Linked DNA regions of Homo sapiens: all the other regions are linked to region 1. The links are contacts of gene promoters, found by promoter capture Hi-C in human tissues and cell types (Jung and others, 2019). All regions are on one chromosome and are shown on one strand. The core of a region is centred on a gene start or on the middle of the fragment in contact, and the rest is flanking DNA. Distances in the headings are between cores, read along the strand shown.

Region 1 (3,411 bases), core at 485-2,984:
ATGAGGAAATCTTGGTAAGAGTTTCTTGGAGGGACATGCAACAGGAGTTTGCAGTCTGGGACGGTGGTGCCACACAAAGAGAACATCTGTCTCTTGGCGGTCTCCAAGATGATCTGGCATGCAGGCGAGGACTGCAGGAGGGCATCGTTGGCGATGAAGTGGTGAAAGAAGGCTGGGTGGATGTACTGCAGCCTGACCTGCTTGAACAGTTCCTGCATGTATCGCTTCCGGGCCTGGAGGTCATGCTTGATCCAAACCATGAGGGCCTCAAACACCTTTTCCTCCTCCCCACAGAGCCCATCATCTCCGAGATAGTCCCTCAACTCCAAGGCACAGAGCTCCTTCAGGTCGGCCGATGCGGCCACCTCTGGGAAGGACGTCAGTGCCACCTCCCTGGCTTTCTTCTTGAGGGTCTCGCAGCTTAAGATTTCTGAGAGTCTGATCATACCCAGGCAGTTGCTGGGGGCCAACTGGCTCTGCAAGTACGAGGAGCAGGCCTCAAACAGCTTGGGGAACTGTAGCATGGAGGCGGCCTCCATCACGGGGAGGACATTGTCAGTGGCAATATGTGCCTCCCCCGTATACACGTAGGAGACGATCTGGTCCAGGGTTGGGGGGTCAATGCCTTTCAGCTGCACTTTGGCTTCACTCTTCTCCCGGAAGCTGCTGCAGAACATAGCCCTGAAGTAGGGGCTGCTGGAGGCCAGCACGTTGCGGTGGCAGGGGATCTCCCGGGCACCGGCACAGATGCTCACATCAGTCAGGATCCTGCTTTGCCTTAAGCTGTTGAGCTGCCTCAACAAGTCAGAAGAGAAGTCGTGGTCTTTGAAGAGCAGCCCATCTAGTGACTCCTCGTCCATCCTACAAAGAGGGAAGGAAGCCCCCAGAGTCAGCAAGAGTCAAACCTTTCTCAGCTGCATGTGCTGGAGGGTTCAGCTGTGGGGACTCCAAGACCAGTGCTCCTATTCCATTCCCCATGATGTTTGCGGATGTCACCATGGATATTGTGTAGGGAAGATTGGAAAGGAAGGCCACATACATCTCAGACCTGAGCCCTTTTGGGTTATGGTTATTTTCAAAAGTAATAGGCAAATAGTATCTTCAGCTAATCTGAGAGAAACAACCAAACAAACAAACTAAAGTTGTTGGAAGTTACTCTGTTATCAGAAGCTGAAATGTTAGTCTGAAGCAAGATAACAGTCCATGGATTTGACCAGCAGAAGTTCATGAGCCTTTTTCCAGATCGATGGCATATCTGTTATTGAGTAACAGATGTCTAAACCTCTCTTTCTGGGTGTCAATCATTCCCCAAGGATGATATTCTGGAGGTGTGGCCCTCTGGTCACTGGACAGAAATGAGGGAAGAAAATGGACCTTTGATGCATATATTTAAATATGACTTCATTGAGTCTTGTTTTAAAGATAGAATAAATAAAAGGAAAGACCAAACAATCCCCTGGTTTATTGGATGACACCTGGTTTTCTACTTGCAGAAGAAATAAGTATGAGGGACACTTACCTTGTTTTGCTGCGGTGACATCCACTGGTGCCTGGTCTGACTTATCCCCCCGGAGAGTTTCTACCTCTAGCTCCAAGGGAAACCATAAACCCCAGGCCTTTCTTTCAGTTGGCAAATGATTTGTCCTGGGAGATTTCTGGATTTGTTTATGCTGAAGGCACTTTCATAGTTTTCTAGAGCTTTGTGCAAGGACTGCTGGGCAGGGAGACAGTGTATACATTCCAGGGCTAAGAATAGTTGCATATGTACTTTCCACTGTTATGACATGTGACTTTCCAGTTGCCTTTTGCAGCAACCCGAGGGCCTGCAGGGCCGGCGCATGCCCACATGCCTCGTTTCCTTGGCAAGTGTTTACATCGGCAAAAATAGATCGGGAGGAGCGGCTTCTCTTAGAGAAGACTTTGCTGTCTGCTTGGAACCATCCCGAGTCCCCTGTCCTAAAAGTGCTTGGGAATTCTAGCCGTCTGTAAACAGGTTGCTGTGACCTGTGGAGAGTCACTGAAGATGGTTCTGGGCCACAGTGGAGGTGGCAGGTGGTCACAAGGGAAGCCGGAACATGAGCCTGTGGGTGCTATTCAATGGATCTCTATTTCCCACCATCTGCCTGGCGGGATCGCTGGGGAGAGCTGTGATTTCCTCCTCCAGGATCCTAGGTGATGAAATCCATGACAAAAGTTGTTGTTTTTTGTTGTTGTTGTTGTTGAGCATCCCAGGGTTTCCAGACTCCTGAAGGCCCAAACCTTTGTCAGGTCTCCTTACTCAGGAACCTCTGATTGACAGTGGTAAGGCCGAGCTCCTCCTGTCGCGTCTGCCTCTCCCAGACACGTGCTGATTGCTCTTCAGCTGGCTTTTTATAGTTCAGACTTCCTTTTCTGTCTTACTTTTCCATTTTGTCTTGTCTGGCAGCTTGAGCTAGAGGCAGGAGGCAAGGCATATTGCTTTAGGGAGAGAGAGAAAGAAGATGAAGGAGGATGAGGAGGAAGAAGAAGCAGGGACAGAGGGAGGGAGAGAGACGAGAGGAGGAAGAAGAGGAGGAGGAATAGGAGGAGGAGGAAAAGAAGCAGGAGGTAGAGAATCGGGGGAGGAATGATGATAGTGATGTGGTAGGAGGCAGCTTTCAATAACAATCAGAATCACGAGAGAGAGTGAGGGGGACCTCAGGTCTGTTCTGCCCCTGCCTTCAGGGAGGTCCATGATTGTCTTAGCCACAAAAGGCAGGGAAGCCTGACTTTGTCTCCTACTCAACGTCTTGCTCAACTAGTGCAATGGTCTTCCATGCATTTTTTTTTCTTTGCTCCTAGTACTTCTCTCTCCAATACATCCACCCTGTCTTCTCTGGAGCAGCCCCTGGGAAGGCAACTCAGAATTTGCCAGTCCCCAGCATCAGGCCCTTCAGTGGCTCCCCATGTCTGCAGGACTCCTTAGCCAGAATCGGACTGGTGTCCTGTCTGCTTCTGGAACCATGTCTACTGCCACTCATGTGTGGTAATCTAGCTCCATGAGACACTTACAGATCCTTGTATGCATCTGGTCACTGTTGGGGAAGCTGGGCTGGCCTGGCCTTTGGGACACCACAGGGCAGGGTGGAAGGAAGAGGGTTTCTCATTCACAGTTGCCGATCGTAGAGTGGATTATGCCCAAAAGAGTCCAGAAGGTCAAGGCCAGGGAAATGGATCCAAAACATGTTACTGGGGCCATGGGCCTGGAGGCCAGAATTAGGAGCAGGAGGCCTAAGCTAAGGGGGTCAGAGACCCATGGAGGCACAAGCAGGGAGCAGGTGAGAGGAGCTGTTCCTCCATATGTCCGAGTTGGTGAGCTGTGCTGGTGACATAATAAGTGAGTAGCCACATTCCTGAAAGAGCCCAGGGATCCTCTGATTCGTACTCTATCCC
Region 2 (3,411 bases), core at 274-2,773, 340 kb before region 1:
CCCGGCCGCCCCTACTGGGAAGTGAGGAGCCCCTCTGCCCGGCCACCACCCCGTCTGGGAGGTGTACCCAACAGCTCATTGAGAACGGGCCAGGATGACAATGGCGGCTTTGTGGAATAGAAAGGCAGGAAAGGTGGGGAAAAGATTGAGAAATCGGATGGTTGCCGTGTCTGTGTAGGAAGAAGTAGACATGGGAGACTTTTCATTTTGTTCTGTACTAAGAAAAATTCTTCTGCCTTGGGATCCTGTTGATCTGTGACCTTACCTCCAACCCTGTGCTCTCTGAAACATGTGCTGTGTCCACTCAGGGTTGAATGGATTAAGGGCGGTGCAAGATGTGCTTTGTTAAACAGATGCTTGAAGGCAGCGTGCTCGTTAAGAGTCATCACCACTCCCTAATCTCAAGTACCCAGGGACACAAACACTGCGGAAGGCCGCAGGGTCCTCTGCCTAGGAAAACCAGAGACCTTTGTTCACTTGTTTATCTGCTGACCTTCCCTCCACTATTGTCCTATGACCCTGCCAAATCCCCCTCTGTGAGAAACACCCAAGAATTATCAATAAAAAATAAATAAATAAATTTAAAAAAAAAAAAAAAACCAAATTACTGATACATGCTACAACACTGATGAATTTCAAAAACATTATGTTAAGTGAAAGAATCCAGATGTAAAAGACTATATATTATTTCATTTACAGGAACTGTCCAGAAAATGCAAATCTATAGAGACAGAAAGTAGGTTAGGGAATGCCTGGGGTTGGGGGTAGGAGGCCTGACTGCAAATGGGCACGAGGAAGAGACTGGAAATCTCTCTTTTGGGGAGATGGAAATGTTCTAAAACTGATTCATGCTGATAGTTGCACAACTCTGTAAATTAACAATCATTAAATTGTACTGTTAAGATCAGTGAATTTTATGATATATAAATTATACCTCAATAAAGATGTTAACAATAAATTAAAAAATACATGTAAGAATTGGAGACAATATTTTTTATGCTTGAGGGTCTCTAAAGGCCTTGCTCAGGATCTGCTGCTTATAGTAAATGAAAGTTGAAAAAAATACATATTTATTTTATATGCTTTTACTGGTTAAGAATTACATTCCACTATCAGTAACAGAGATCCACTCAAGGATACTGAACAGCAATTCCCTAAAATTATCATGCACACACACATACAGATGCTTCTTAACTGTATATATGTGTATATGTGTGTGTGTATAGGAAGCTCAGAAGGCAGAAAGTACTCTCATCCTTGCCCTTCCAGAGAGCTTTCCTAGAAACTGTGTGCAATTCCCTATCTCATTGGCTAGAATTTAGTCACGTGGCCATATTTTGCTGCAATGGATGAAACATAACTTTCCAAATGGGACTTTGTTACAAATAACGGAAGAATGGATATTAGGAGGCAAGTTGGCAATCTTTTCCTCAATGTCAGGGAGCAATCTCTTAATTACATTACTTTGAACAATAAAATACTCTGTATATAAGGTGGGGAGTAGTAGGGAGAAGACACGAGTCTAAAATAAGCTCAATTAACTCTACAATGTGTACATTTAGGGATCACTGATAGAACTGGCCTAAAAATAAATGGCAGAGTGTAACTCCTCACTCCTTAAGAGTGGGCTGTTCATTGTGTGACTTCTTTTCAGAGTACAGTTCAAAAGAGAGAAGTATAGTTCAGAAAAGATTAATTTTTCGGTGGAGAAACCTGAGAAATACTACTTAACTTGGTGATCAAAGTCAACCAATAGTCAAGAATCACATCACTAGTAGGCAACCTTGATATGACCACTTTGCCTTCCTTCCCCAAACCCATAGTCCTGGTCTGGTCATGAGAAAAACATTAGACTATTCCAAAATAGCTATCTTCCAAAATATTTGCCTGGTATCCTAAATATTGTTAATGTCATCAAAAATATCCACATCCATTGGGTTGTCTTTTTGTTGTTGAGTTTTAGGAGTTATATACATTATTTGTTGAAGCACAAAGTTTTAAAATTTTGATGAAGTCCAATTTATCTAACTGCCAAACTCAAGGTCATGAAAATGTCCTTGTTTTCTTCTAAGAATTTTACTTTTAGCTATTCAACTTAGGTCTTTAATCCATTTTGTTGTTGTTTTTTTTTTAAATCAACTTTTAAGTTCTGGGGTAAATGTGCAAGATGTGCAGGTTTGTTACACAGGTAAACGAGTGCCATGGTGGTTTGCTGCACACATCAACCCATTACCTAGGTATTAAGCCCAGCACACATTAGCTATTCTCAGATAGGGATCTAACTTCATTCTTTTGCATGTGAATATCCAGTTGTTCCAGCACCATCTGTTGAAGAAATGGTTCTTTCCTATTGAATAGATGTGGGCACTCTTGTTGAAAATCAAGTGACCATAGATATATTGATTTCTGGACTTTCTATTCCATTGACCTATATGTCTAACCTTATGCCTGTATTATACTGCTTTAATATATGTAGCTTTGTAGTAAGTTTCAAAGTCAGGAAGTGAGTTCTCTCCTTTTTCAAGATTTTTTGGGCTATTCAGGGTACCTTGCAATACATCATGATTTTTAGGATTTACTTTCCTATTTTTCAAAAAAAGGCCATTGGGATTTTGATGGAAATTGCATTGAATCTGTAGTCGCTTTGGGGATTACTGCCATCTTAACCAGTACTGTCTTCCAAACCATGAATACAGGCTGTCTTTCCGTTTATTTAGGTCTTACTTAATTTCTTTTGGCAACAGTTTGTAGTTATCAGTATGTTAAATTCTTATATATCCTTGGTTAAATTTATTCCTAGGTGTTTACTGTTTTAGATGTTATTATAAGTAAAATTGCTTTCATAATTTTCCTTTTGGGCTGTTCATTGCTAGTGTATAGAAATGCAACTGATTTTAGTATGTTTTCTATCTTGTAACTCTGCTGATTTTTTTTTTTTTTTTAAAGACAGAGTCTCACTCTGCCACCCAGGCTGAAGTACAGTAGTGCAATCTTGGCTCACTGCAGCTTTGACCTCCTGGGCTCAAGCTTTGACCTCCTGCCCTCAGCCTCCCAGGGAATAGCTGGGACTACAAGTATGTGCCACCATGCCCAGCTAATGATTGTATTTTTTTTGTAGAGACAGGGTTTTACCATGTTGTCCAGGCTGGCCCTGAACTCCTGAGCTCAAGTGATCCACCCACGTTGGCCTCCCAAAGTTCTGGGATTACAGGCATGCACCACCACATCCAGCCTGCTGAGTTCTTTTACTACCTCTAACAGATTTTTTGTGGATTCTTCAGGATTTCCTACATAATACAAAAATTAGCTGGGAGTGGTGGTATGCGCCTGTGGTCCCAACTACTCAAGAGGCTGAGGCGGGAGAATCGCTTGAACCTGGGAGGAAGAGGTTGTGGTGAGCCGAGATCATGC
Region 3 (3,411 bases), core at 344-2,843, 300 kb before region 1:
TGTTTAACAGCCTTCATCTACCAAATGCTAAGTAGCTGCCCCCACCAGTTGTGACAACCATAACTGTCTCTAGATATCTGTCCCTTCGGGGAGGGGGATGGCATCATCCCTGGTTAAAAAACGACAGGTCTAGATCCACTATTTCATAAGAGGCTGCAAAATGGTGACTTTCTGATTCAATCATTTCTTTTGCATTTATTAGCTGTGATTTTCCTATACAAAGAACTACACTACTTCATCAACTGCTGAATTACCCTCAATCATGGCCTGTATAGGACAGGAAGAAGAAATGTTTGATTCTTTCCCTCTTATCAATTTTCAGAGTAATAAATAATAACTCAGCAACCTTAGGTGACCAGTTGAATTAAAAACATTATTAAAAACTGATGTTTTTTTTTTTTTTTTTGAGACGGAGTCTGGCTGTGTCGCCCAGGCTGGAGTGCAGTGGCACGATCTCAGCTGACTGCAAGCTCCGCCTCCCGGGTTCGTGCCATTCTACTGCCTCCACCTCCCGAGTAGCTGGGACTACAGGCACCTGCCACCATGCCTGGCTAATATTTTTGTATTTTTAGTAGAGATGGGGTTTCACCGTGTTAGCCAGGATGGTCTCGATCTCCTGACCTCGTGATCCACCCGCCTTGGCCTCCCAAAGTGCTGGGATTACAGGTGTGAGCCACCGTGCCCGGCCCTAAAAACTGATGATTTTTAAGATCTTGGTGTGTTCCCTGCCAGCAGTGGCGGGGGTGGTGGTGATGGGGAGGAGGCTCATTCTGCACTTTCTGGTTCTCGTGGCTATCTCCTCCCCTCACCTCCTTGCTCTGCCATGCCCTGCTCCAAAGAGACACCTGTCATTTCCCCCGGCAAGTGGGTCTGGCTTGCACAGGAGGGTGGGGTGGGGCATGTAGCTCCACCTTGCCTGGTTCTGGACTCAACCTGGGAGCTGGGAGTCCACACAGGCCGAGGGCTATGACCTATACAGTGCATATGATTATACAGTACCACCTATGGAAGAAGCTATCAGACATTCAGATAGCTGCTCCTTCTGGGTATTATGGAAGAGTAGCTCTACATTTTGGCTTGGCTGCAACACTTAGGAGCTGGGTATCTTAGATGAAGGTTATAGGAGAAACATTGGTGTTTTGTCAAAGAAAAGTTTGAAGTCAAAACTTCAAGGTGATCGAATTGCACAGCTTATTTGTGAATGAATTTTTTATCCAGCAATAGAACTCCAAGTTCTGAATAACAGTGCTGAAGAGGGTTCCGTAAGTTTTGGTTGCACTGGAAAGAAAATTTATGCCAAGAATAGAAATTAAGAAATCATACCTTTTTTTTTTTTACAAATAAGATGTTTTCTTTTAAAAAAAAAAACAACAAAAACAAAATCAAAAACAACAACAACAACAACAACAAAAAACTGATGGTGGCTGGGCATGGTGGCTCATGCCTGTAATCCCAGCACTTTGGGAGCCTGAGGTGGGAGGATCACTTGAGCTCAGGAGTTCAAGACCAACCTGGGCAACAGAGACTTCATCTTTACTAAAAAACAAACAAACAAACAACCAAAACCCAGCTGAGTGTGGTAGTGTGTGCCTGTAGTTCTGAGAAGTTGAGGTGGGAAGATTGCTTGAGCCCAGGAGATCAAGGCTGCAGTGAGTTGTGATCATGCTACTGCACTCCAGCCTGGGTAACAGAGTAAGATTCTGTCTCAAAAAACAAAAACAAGGCCTTGTGTGGTGGGTCACGCCTGTAATCCCAGCACTTTGGGAGGCTGAGGCAGGTAGATCTCTTGAGGCCAGGAGTTCAAGACCAGCTTGGCCAAAATGGCAAAACCCCGTCTCTACTAAAAGTTCAAAAATTAGCCAGGAGTGGTGGCACATGCCTGTAATCCCAGCTACTGGGGAGGCTGAGGCACGAGAATAGCTTGAACCTGGGAGGTGGAGGTTGCAGTGAGCCAAGATCATACCACTGCACTCCAGCCTGGGTGACAGAGTGAGACTCTGTCACAAAACAACAACAACAACAACAACAAACCAAACCAAAACCAACAACAACAAAAAACTAACAACATAAAAAAGTGATTTTTTTTAGGTATTTGATATATTTCTATCTACTGTAGTCACTATTTTTGATGCTCAAATTGTTTCATCTTCAGCCAGTGAGAGATCCCTCAAAATTGGCTCCTATGTCATTCTGGTACGATTCCAGTAATTTTTTTTTTTTATTGCTTTCAGGCATTACAAAGTATTCCAGGCTTGTCTTGATCGTTTCTGCTTCAGTGTTACAATCCGCCATCTCTCCTGAGTCCTAATATTTAGAGACCACACTCAGGGATGGACATTAATTGCTACTGGATTGTGATTGCTTCTAGGCCTGTTTAAAGTGTCCAGAGTTAGGATTTTTTTTTTCTTTAAACAAAACAAAACAAAACAAAAAACTCTGTCCCAAGTTTCTATTGATATTTGCAATTCAAAGTAAAGACTATCAGGGTTTCAGGTCAAGTGGGTGGCTCACGCCTGTAATCCCAGTACTTTGGAAGGCTGAGGCAGGTGGATCACCTGAGATCAGGAGTTCGAGACCAGCCTGGCCAACATGGTGAAACCCTGTCTCTACTAAAAATACAAAAAATTAGCTAAGTGTGCTGGTACATGCCTGTAATCCCAGCTACTCGGGAGGCTGAGGCAGGAGAATTGCTTGAACTCGGGAGGCAGAGGTTGCAGTGAGCCAAGACTGTGCTACTGCACTCCAGCCTGGGCGACAGAGCAAGACTTTGTCTCAAAAAAAACAATTTAGGGTAATTTGACTTCTTTATTTCACACTTGTATCTTCTTTCTCTTAGGTTGAAAATATTATTACCTAATGACATTCACATAATTACTTATTTGCATTATTCTACAGTATTATTACTAAAATTAAGTGCAGAATACAGTTTAATCATCTTCAACATGCAATGTGCTAAATTCTAAAAAAGCTTAATTTAACATACATTTTTACTCTGTCAGAATTTTTAAGTTTTTGGTTAAAATAACTTGAATACTAAATTTCTTTTAAAAATGTAGCTATATTTGGCCAGGCGCGGTGGCTCATGCCTGTAATCCCAGCACTTTGGGAGGCAGAGACGGGTGGATCACCTAAAGTCAGGAGTTCAGGACCAGCTTGGCCAACATGGCGAAACCCAGTGTCTGCTAAAAATACAAAGAACAGGCTGGGTGCGGTGGCTCACATCTGTAATCCCAGCACTCTGGGAGGCTGAGGCGGGCTGATCACCTGAGGTCAGGAGTTCAAGACCTGGCCAACATGGTGAAACCCCATCTCTACTAAAATACAAAAATTTAGCTGGGCATGGTGGGGCACACCTGTAGCCCCAACTACTTGGGAGGCTGAGGCAGAAGAATCGCTGGAACCTGGGAGATG

The links. Contacts are between HindIII fragments. The study calls those that stand out against the background at their distance.
Region 2: a contact is called between a fragment that was not itself captured here and the fragment with the promoter of KLHL38 in region 1, in 1 of the 25 tissues and cell types used here (mesenchymal stem cells).
Region 3: a fragment that was not itself captured here is called in contact with the fragment with the promoter of KLHL38 in region 1 in 1 of the 25 tissues and cell types used here (H1 embryonic stem cells).

What each region holds. Positions count from the first base shown.
Region 1 is chr8:123,652,067-123,655,477 of GRCh38, forward strand. It overlaps KLHL38 (kelch like family member 38), which reads right to left and starts at 1,735. Exons shown (of 4, transcript NM_001081675.3): 1 at 1,520-1,735; 2 at 1-861. The coding sequence starts at 860. The HindIII fragment of the contact is 9,515 bases long and covers 1-3,411 here.
Region 2 is chr8:123,316,019-123,319,429 of GRCh38, forward strand. No RefSeq gene overlaps it. Among named protein-coding and RNA genes, the nearest start is that of MIR548AA1, 30 kb to the right of the region's middle. The HindIII fragment of the contact is 9,728 bases long and covers 1-3,411 here.
Region 3 is chr8:123,351,360-123,354,770 of GRCh38, forward strand. The region is part of intron 13 of ATAD2 (ATPase family AAA domain containing 2); the gene reads right to left. It also overlaps the pseudogene DUTP2. Among named protein-coding and RNA genes, the nearest start is that of MIR548D1, 4.9 kb to the left of the region's middle. The HindIII fragment of the contact is 4,136 bases long and covers 1-3,411 here.